Regions from separate parts of the Homo sapiens genome. Here region 2 is linked to region 1. The links are contacts of gene promoters, found by promoter capture Hi-C in blood cells and fetal thymus (Javierre and others, 2016). All regions are on one chromosome and are shown on one strand. Each heading gives the region's core, a stretch centred on a gene start or on the middle of the fragment in contact. The rest is flanking DNA. Distances are from core to core; before and after follow the strand shown.

Region 1 (4,776 bases), core at 968-3,467:
TGAACCCCCACAGTACTTTAGATACCCTGAGATGGACCGAAAGCCCCAGGAGTGAGACTAAGGGTGGAGATGGGGGTGGGGTGATGTGTGTCAATGGGCACTCACTTACCTTGCTCTTGACTTTGACCAAGAAAGTGAGGCAGCAGAGAATACGTATGCGTATCGCATTGCCCAGGGCCACATTTCTAGCTACCTGTCCACAGAATAATAAAAATCAGCGACAGGGAAGGAGAGTCCCAGCAGAGCATGTAGCAGGGGCCATGTCCACTCCAGGCTCACCTCCAGGCAGAATGTGAGGACTTCAGAGAGGTAGGGGGTGATGACCGGCACCTCTGACTCCAACAGTTCATCCAAAGCCTCAAGGGCCTCACAGGCCTTTGCCTGACAGACAAACAAGGCACAAGGTTACCATGCTCTTCTTCAGTGGGCCAAACTGGACACTTCTGCACTCTCCTTCCAACAGAGCTCCTGCCCACCTGTCCTCACCTCATCTATGGGGATCAGAGTCTGCATGGCCATGATCAGCTTGGGCACCAACATCCGAGCGAGAGGCTGAGGGACACATCACAGAGAGCATGATGCAGCCCAATCTCACACCCCAGCAGCTGGCAGCTTCCTCACAGCCTGAATTGCGAGGAGGAGCCCAGGCATAACAGCCAGGCCCACCTACAGCATCCCCTCTCAATTGTCAGGAAGGGCCACAGGCAGGTAAAGAATCCAAAGCAGCTTTGTAACTTTTACGGGTGAGGACATGAAGGCATGAGGAAAGGGAGTCAAAGATAACGAGGGCCCACATCTCACCACATCTTCAGTGCTGAGGTAGGGAGCCATGGTGGTCAGAGTGCGCAGGGAGTAGAAGAGCAGCCCAGGAGAGCCCACCTCACCAAGAGTCTCATTCAGAAGCCGAAGAAGCTCCCGGTGGTGGGGTTGGAAGGCCTCGGGCCGGGAGGTCACCACCACACTTAGCAGCAAAAGCCCCATCTGTCCAAGAATAGAGGATGGGAGAGCAAGCTTACAAGGTCTATCCAGCCTCTCAGGCCCTCCCTCCTGCCAACCATGTGATGGTACCTCTCTCTCTGGGCTGTGGGGGCTGTGGGTACTGTGCTGAAGCAGCTGCAAAAGCTGTGGCCAGGCCTCCAAGCCTTCCTTTCGAAAAATGGTGGCTGAGAGCTGGGCCAGGCTGAGGCTCACACAGTGCCTGCAAACAGGAGAGATCTCCTCCAATCACCCTTCAATACCTTCCTCTGCACACAGTGGCCAGGCTCAATGGGGCAGCCAGGACAGAAACTTTCAGGAGGTGTGGGCACAGGGTCTTTGCCAAGTTGGGACACATGAGACAGCAGCTCAGAGGGAGCCCAACAGCACTGTGGGCATGTAATCTGGTAAGTTCAGTCTAACTTAGCCTGAATTTCAGTCTTATTCTTCTGACTTGGGTTTGGCAGATCATCATCACCCTTCCTCAAGAACTTTAGTCTTCAAAACAGCCTTAAAATCCTCACTCCACCTTGCGTCTAGAACTGAAGTCCCTGCCCCACAAGTCCCAGCCTGGAGCCGAAAAGGAAGGCAGAAACCTAGACAAAGTCGTCAAGATCCCGAGAGAAGTGGGTAGGTACTTACTCTGTTTCTCTCTGCAGGGCCGTCAGGATCAGGGACTTGAGGCTGGAACACAGGTGGCAGGTGTTTGGTACCCAGCCTGCCCAAGAAAAGTCTCCGCCTGGCCCCGCCCCACCCCAGGCCCAGCCCACCTCTCCCGTTGCTCCGCCGCCAGCCGTCGCCAGCGGGTGTTCAGTCGTCTGCGGGTCAGCACGGCCGCAAACTGGCGGATCTAGGACGAGGAAGCAAGCACGTGGGGGTCCGGGCAGGAAGGTGCTGAGCGGACCGCAGTGGGCGAATACTGGGGCTTGACCGGTGGCGTACAGTGGGAAGCTCGGAGGGGAGAGTCAGGGGTCTCACCTGGGGGTCGGCCGCCGAGGCTAGCAGGTCGCAGAGAGCCGGCAAAGCGGCGGGGGCCCGAAGAACGATCTGGAGCTGTTCCGTGGCCTGGGGGGAAGCTAGGGGTGAGAGTTGGGCCTTTCCCGCAACCTCCCGCTCGCCCTGGCCCGGTTACGCCTGCTCCGTACCCGACGGATGCGCTCGGTGTCCGGTAGCAGCAGCTCCCGTAGGAGCTGCTCTAGCCCGGCTGACTCCATGGCAGCAACTGAGCCGCCGCTACTGGGCCGAAAAGGGGAGGGGGAGGGACAGCACGTGGAGGTTCTGACACCCACTTCCGGAGGAAAGGGCGTTGCTGCACGCCCCGCGGGTTGCCAAGGTGATTCAATTCGCTTCCCACAAAGAGGTCCGGCTCCTCCACTTCCGTTAGGCTGAGCACCGGCTGAATCGCGGAAACCCGACTCTGGCAATGTAGGTTCCCCACGCCGGGAGTTCCCAAGCTGGGTTGGAGAACTCGAGCTTCGGGCATTCAGTGGCCAGCTCGGCTTTATAAAGGACCGTGCCCTTAACAGCAGGGCTCGAGTTCCTATATCCAGACCAAAACCTCCAACTGCATGAGCCTTTTTCTTAATAAATTTTATTTTGGTAATTGTAAAAAGAAAAATCAGGACCAAAACTAAAGGCAACTTAAAAAGTTCAAATATATAATCCTTATGTGATAGAGATTTATAATTTCCAGGCCCTCTCTGGGGAAGGAATGCCCAAAGGGCAAAAGGGAAGGCAACAATGCCATCACACAATTCAGTCAATCAGAAGAGAAGCTGGTAGGAGAGTTCAACAGGGCATGAAGAAAGGGAGAGAACAGCAATAGTTCTGCCATACAGAACTCAGTCCATCTTGAGGTTAACATAGATATACCGGATGAACTTTAGGGAAGAAAAAAAGGAGATGGTGCCCAGCATGAGGAAGAAGACATAACCAGTGAGTAAGGAGTAGCCGAAGAACTCTACTGTCTGTACTGCCCCAGACATGTTGGAGCGCCGGGCATAATAGAAAACTGAGTAGAGGAAGATGAAGAGGCCGGTGGAGCCAACACTCAGCACAGATCGCCACCACCAGCGGTAATCCTCCCCAGACAACTGGAAGTAGGTGAGTGCAATGGAGATGCAAGCCCCCACACTCAGCAGGATGGCGAAGACAAAGAAGAGGATGCCGTACAAAGTGTACTGCTCCCGACCCCATACTGTGGCAAAGATGTAGTACAGCTCCACAGAGATGGCACTGTGAAGAAAAGAGATGATACACAGCATTAAAGGGCTGTGCACCATCAGCACAGTGGCTGGGCTGAAATCCAGCCCCCACCCTCTCCCATGTTGCTGGGTCATTGTGAAAAGTGAGTTCACTCCACTCTCTGCCCCAGATCTCCTGGCTTCATGGGGATTTTTTGCCTATGATTAGCCGCTCTCACTTCAAGAATATCTTCCCTAATAGATTGAGGGCAGGGATCTTGTCCATTTTATTCCACTTTATTCTTTGCCTGGCACAAAGAGGTATTCAACAAAGTAAATGGGTCATCAAATGGGCTTTAAACCCCACATGATGTCCATAGGCATTAAAGTCAGAAACCAGGAAGGTGAAGGGGGAAATGTCTCCGGAGAGCTTTATAAGTGAGACACTCTCATATCATTCAAGCTCAGTCCTGCTTGGGGATAGGAGGAACCATTTAATGATCTCTGAATGGTACCACTGAACCAGGGATCAACGGGTTGGGTTAGGGTACTGGATGAGTAGGGACAGGAAAAATTGAGGTCAGGAACCTGACAGTAATAGCCATGGAATAAAGGGAGGATACCTGAAAGGCAGGAAGCCTCCAACAGTCATGTGGATGACAGTAGACTTGTACCAGGGCTGGGGTGGAATCTCCCGGGCGATGTTCTTGGTGCGACAGGGTGCATCAAAGGGGCTGGCGTTGTTCTTCCCAAAGATGCCTCCAATGACAGTGAGGGGAAAGCCCACCAGCAGCCAAACCGTCAGAAGCAGCAGGATGGTTGTGGCTGGCAGAGCCTGTGTCGAACCATTGGCCCAATGCACTGAGTTCACCACACTCCACGTCAGGAAGAAAGGCACTGCAGGGATGGGCCCCCGGAGGGAGGGTCAACACTAGGAGCTACATCTCTAAGGGCACCCACTTACATCCAGGACCAAAAGGGGAGGGGGCTGAAGCAGCCTGCCACTCTAACGGCAGACTCATGCTCCTGGATGTCCCTGCAGAGTCGACTGCCTTCACCTCCACCCTTTCAGGTCCCATTATTCTTTGTTCTGTGTTTTTTTTTTTTTTTTTTTTTTTTTTTTGAGACAGAGTCTCGCTCTGTCGCCCAGGCTGGAGTGCAGTGGCGCGATCTCTGCTCACTGCAAGCTCCGCCTCCCAGGTTCATGCCATTCTCCTGCCTCAGCCTCCCGAGTGAGTAGCTAGGACTACAGGCGCCCGCCACCACGCCCGGCTAATTTTTTGTATTTTTAGTAGAGATGGGGTTTCACTGTGTTAGCCAGGATGGTCTCGATCTCCTGACCTGGTGATCTGCCTGCCTCAGCCTCCCAAAGTGCTGGGATTACAGGCATGAGCCACCACACCCGGACTCTTTGCTCTTTATCTTACCAACACCATCCCCCAACCCGGTGTCATTAAGGATCCAGGTAGCTACTACATAATCTGAGAGTAGCACAAATCCATCTGCCTCCAGGGGCCTGTCTTGCCTTGGAGTTGGTAATTCCTAGCATGAGACATTCCTTTGGATTAAGGCCCTGTTTTCAGAAAGCCTTGGTTCAAATATAAATGTGATGGGATAA
Region 2 (4,776 bases), core at 1,649-4,148, 2.7 Mb before region 1:
CATGCCACCCTAATACAAAGGACTTAACTAAAAAAAGAATTTCTATTACGAAAAGAGAATTAGGGAAAGAAAACATGCCTGCCCGAGAAGAAACCCAAGTGGGAAATCAATATTTTTCTATGGGAGTGCATTGATATTTTGGGCAGTCACTTACTCTTCCTGAGAGACTGTCCATCAGATTAGTGGATGTTTAGCATCCTAGATCCCAGTCACTAAATACCTGTGGCACCCCAGTCAGCACGATAAAGACGATGAAGACATTTGCATACATTTCCCAATATCCTCATAAAAGAACAACTGGAAATAGGACTGGAAACGGAGTGTATGTCATTTTTTTCAATCCCAAATATGATATTGAACACACCATATTAATCTTTCTGTTCCCATTTCTTTATCTGTAAAAAGGAAAGTTATCTTAGAATGCCAAAACCTGGTCTAATAGAAATTTCATTCCAATGAATCAATATAAAAATTAGATTAAAAGCACTTCAACTGATTATCTTCTAACTGACCTTTAGTGTTCCACTGATAATGCAAGACTACCTAGATGTCCCTTGCTGGGCTTCTGTCATGGGAAATAGGAATAACAAACAGAGAAAGAAGCCCAGGGCCCAGCATAGAGTTTTCCTAGAAAAATCCAAATGTTCACACTCTAATCTCATTTCCAGTTGGACAAAGATATTAAGTTCTATTTAAAACTGAGTAATTTATTAATGCCCCCATAATACTGGGTACTTTTGCTTTCTTGATGGACTAGTTCTTTTTTTTTCCTTTAGGGAAAACAAAAACATTTTTTAAATAATATGAATACCCTGTACATTGAATCTATCCTATTAAGAAAGTTTTCACATTCTTGAAATAATTTATCCTTACATCCCTACATAACAGGAGGTAAGACTATAATTTATAGGTTACAAATGGGAGAATCATGATTAAGGATGTGGGAAAATAAATGGCTTTCTCATAGTATAATACCAGTAACAGTGGTAACACTAATTATAACACTGCAATAGTACTATAAACTACTTTTTGGCATATAAAATGTGCTACGAACTTTAAGAGACAATTACATATATTATTTCATTTACTTCTCTTAGCAACCCTGGGGCCGATATTATTATTCCCTTTTTTTTTTTCTTTTTTTTTTTGAGAGGGAGTCTCGCTCTGTTGCCCGGGCTGGAGTGCAGTGGCGCAATCTTGGCTCACTGCAACCTCCGCCTCCCAGGTTCAAGCAATTCTCCTTGCTTCAGCCTCCCAATTAGCTGGGATTACAGGCGCCCACCACCATGCCTGGCTAATTTTTTTGTATTTTTGGTAGAGATGGGTTTTCACTATGTTGGCTAGGCTGGTCTTGAACTCCTGACCTCATGACCCACCCGCCTCGGCCTCCCAAAGTGCTGGGATTACAGGCATGAGCCACCGTGCCTGGCTTATTATTTCCTTTTAAAAATGGGGAAAATGAGGCTCACACAAGTTTAATAAACGGCCCCAAATCATAAAGCTTATTAAGTGCTAGAGCCATAATTTAAACTTAGGATCTTAGTACTTCCTAGGACAAAAACTTGTCCTCTTAGCCACTATATCATATAACCTAAACTGGGGTTTGTAGGTGAGAAGAGAATTCCAGTATACTAACTCTAAGGTTAATTTTCCAACAACAGAAGAATCTCTTTCTATAAGAATCATAGAAACATGTGAGTGAGTTGCATAGCTGTTAGAGAATCAGAATCGGAAAATAAAAACTAATTCTGAAGTCCCCTGTCATAATACTAATAATATTTTAAGATTAAAAAAATACTTACAGTTTTATATTTACTCCCTAATGTCTTACGTTATTTGGGTCTTGTTTTCCTTTTAGCACTTACTTTTTCTCCTCTTCTGCTATGGTTGTAAGCCTCCCTCTACTTCCCTCACAGCCTACCAAGAACTAAAAGGGAAAGTTTGAGGGAGGCCCACATGATGGTTCAATCACATGGCAGCATTTATCTTTAGCAGCTGAAAATGCTATCAGTGGGTCATGAGAAAACCTTTTAAAATCAAATCACTCACCAGGCGCAGTGGCTCATGCCTGTAATCCCAGCACTTTGGGAGGCCAAGGCGGGCAGATCACGAGGTCAGGAGTTTGAGACCAGCCTGACCAACATGATGAAACCCCATCTCTGCTAAAAATACAAAAAAAAAAAAAAAAAAAAAAAAAAAAAAATAGGTGGGCGTGGTGGCGCACGCCTGTAATCCCAGCTACTCAGGAGGCTAAGGCAGGAGAACTGCTTGAGCCCGGGAGGCAGAGGCTGCAGTAAGCCAAGATGGCGCTATTGCACTCCAGCCTGGGCAACAGAGTGAGACTCTGTCTAAATTAAAAAAAAAAAAAAAATCACTCTACTTCATCTCATTCCAGTTCATGAGCCAAAGTTTGTGAACCAGTAAGCTAGAAAGAGTGAGCAGTTCAATTTGGTCTTGTCTATATCAGTCTCAGGTATCCTTGGCCATCCCCAGTAAAAAAATCTGAAGCAGCAGGCTGGGCACCGTGGGTCATGCCTATAATCCCAGCACTTTGGGAGGCCAAGGTGGGCAGATCATTTGAGCTCAGGAGTTTGAGACCAGCCTGGGCAACATGGTGAAACCACGCCTCTAAAAAAAATACAAAAAATTAGCCAGGTGTGATGGCACACATCTGTAGTCCCAGCTACTTGAGGGGCTGAGGTGGGAGGACTAGTTGAGCCGGGGAGGTTGAGGGTGCAATGAGTGGAGATGGTGCCACTGCACTCCAGCTTGGGTGACAGAGCAAGACCCTGTCAAAAAAAAAAAAAAAAGAAAAGAAAAGATGCAGCAGCAACGAACTAAGATGAAGGTTTTTTTTTCCTTTTTTTTTTTTGAGAGGGAGTCTCGCTCTGTTGCCCAGGCTGGAGTGCAGTGGCATGATCTTGGCTCACTGCAACCTCCGCCTCCCAGGTTCAAGTGATTCTCCTGCCTCAGCCTCCCCAGTAGCTGGCATTACAGGCGCCCGCCACCACACCTGGCTAATTTTTTTATTTTTAGTAGAGATGGGGTTTCACCATGTTGGCCAGGCTAGTCTCAAACTCCTGACCTCAGGTGATCCGCCTGCCTCAGCCTCCCAAAGTGCTGGAATTACAGGCATGAGCCACGACACCCGGCCTAGATGAAGGTTTGATAAGATAATTAATAGCTTTCTAATCTCTCCCAAGTGGAAGCATCATACTATATTAAGATATACAGTTTGAAGTATCAACTCCTAGAAAGTCAGATACACCATTTTCCTAAGAATCAAAATGCATTCCTTCCAATGAACGGTTTATTAAGGAAAAAAAAATTTTAATTGCATTCCAAAGTAAAATACAAACCAATTTGATATTATTTGATCAGTATTTTATATTACAGTAAAATACCTATTCATTAGCATGATTATTTAGGAATACGTGTATACACACACACACACGATTTTTTAAAATATGCTTCTCTAAATCCACATAAATGCCAGAACAAAGACAACAAAAACCTTTGGACAACCTGATCTCTTTAAAATACCTATCACAGTAATCCCTAAACATTTTCATGTAGGATGGGTTTGGAAGTAAGTGAGAGAATGGGTCAATAAAGTGGGAAGCTAAGATGGGTAAACAATGGGCAGGAGATCAGGGCTGACAACGGAGAAATGACCAGACTTACCCAAAAGGCGACAGACTAGATGGACACATTATTATACGTATGAATCTTTTAAAATTTTCAAAATATATAGAAAACCACAGTGTTCTGAAACTGGTTCCTTTTTATGATTTAGCAAATATTAATCTCAAGACAATTTTAAGAGGGAACAGAAAAGAACTAGGCCAGTTGGATGACCATGTAGTTCTTAAGGATTCTGTCCAAAGTCGTGGCTCTCAACTTTCCTTTTTTGTTTGTTTTTCTATGTATGCATTCTCAGCAGAATCAAGCTCTCAACTTTCTTACTTTCATGATCCAACCATGTCCCATATGAGTGCTTAAAAAAAAAAAAAAAAGGCCATTGCCATGACCATTCCATTAAATGGCACTTATTGGGTTTTTTTCCCCAGCATCAAAACATTCATCTGGGCCAGGTGCCAAGGCTCAGGCCTGTAATCCCAACACTTTGGGAGGCTGAGGAGGGCGGATCACTTGAGTCCAGGAATTCGAGACCAGCCTGGGAAACATGTTGAAACCCCCGTCTCTACAAAAAATACAAAAATTCCCCAGTGCAGGGGATCAGGGGATAGATCTGTAGAGATAGACGGATAGATGGATGGATAGACAGATGAACTTAAGCTTCAACTACTTTTAAGACATACACTTGCGTGTGGTGAGGAGCATTGGGGAGGGAAGGAGAGGAAAGGGAGGAAAAGAAAAAAGGAAAAATAATGTGTACACTGTTTGCAGATATAATGGCTTTAGCTCTCAGTTCAGAGAAGAAACAGAATCACATAGTAAGAAGTAAGCAAAAAAAGTAAGAGATTTTAGCCAAATATTATTTACTAGCTATTTACTAGCTCCCTTTAACTAGAATGGAGACTAAGGTATTATTTTACTTAGGGGGAAAAATGTACAAATCAAATGAGATAATGCACATGAAAGCAATTTATCTGGATAGGGCAAAACTACACTAAGCCAAGCTAAATTTTGGCATTACTACATGTATCAAATTTGAAAATATGTACAAGCTTTTGACAGAGTTTCCATTTCTGGGCAGATATTCCACAAAAATTCTCAAACATTGGCATAAAAACTTTGTAAATAAGGATGTTC

The links. Contacts are between HindIII fragments. The CHiCAGO score rates a contact against its expected background, and 5 or more counts as called.
Region 2: a fragment that was not itself captured here is called in contact with the fragment with the promoter of IPO4 in region 1 in 1 of 17 cell types (total B cells); the score reaches 6.8 in total B cells.

Annotation. Positions count from the first base shown.
Region 1 is chr14:24,186,599-24,191,374 of GRCh38, forward strand. IPO4 (importin 4) reads right to left here and starts at 2,218. Exons shown (of 30, transcript NM_024658.4): 1 at 2,121-2,218; 2 at 1,954-2,040; 3 at 1,746-1,825; 4 at 1,618-1,659; 5 at 1,069-1,198; 6 at 802-981; 7 at 487-552; 8 at 280-381; 9 at 110-193. The coding sequence starts at 2,189. It overlaps TM9SF1 (transmembrane 9 superfamily member 1), which reads right to left. Exons shown (of 6, transcript NM_006405.7): 5 at 3,782-4,055; 6 at 2,551-3,210. The coding sequence ends at 2,817. RefSeq lists silencers at 1,214-1,424, 1,670-1,789. The HindIII fragment of the contact is 6,803 bases long and covers 1,010-4,776 here.
Region 2 is chr14:21,468,822-21,473,597 of GRCh38, forward strand. All of the region lies in intron 3 of RAB2B (RAB2B, member RAS oncogene family), which reads right to left. Among named protein-coding and RNA genes, the nearest start is that of RAB2B, 5.7 kb to the right of the region's middle. The HindIII fragment of the contact is 2,798 bases long and covers 1,500-4,297 here.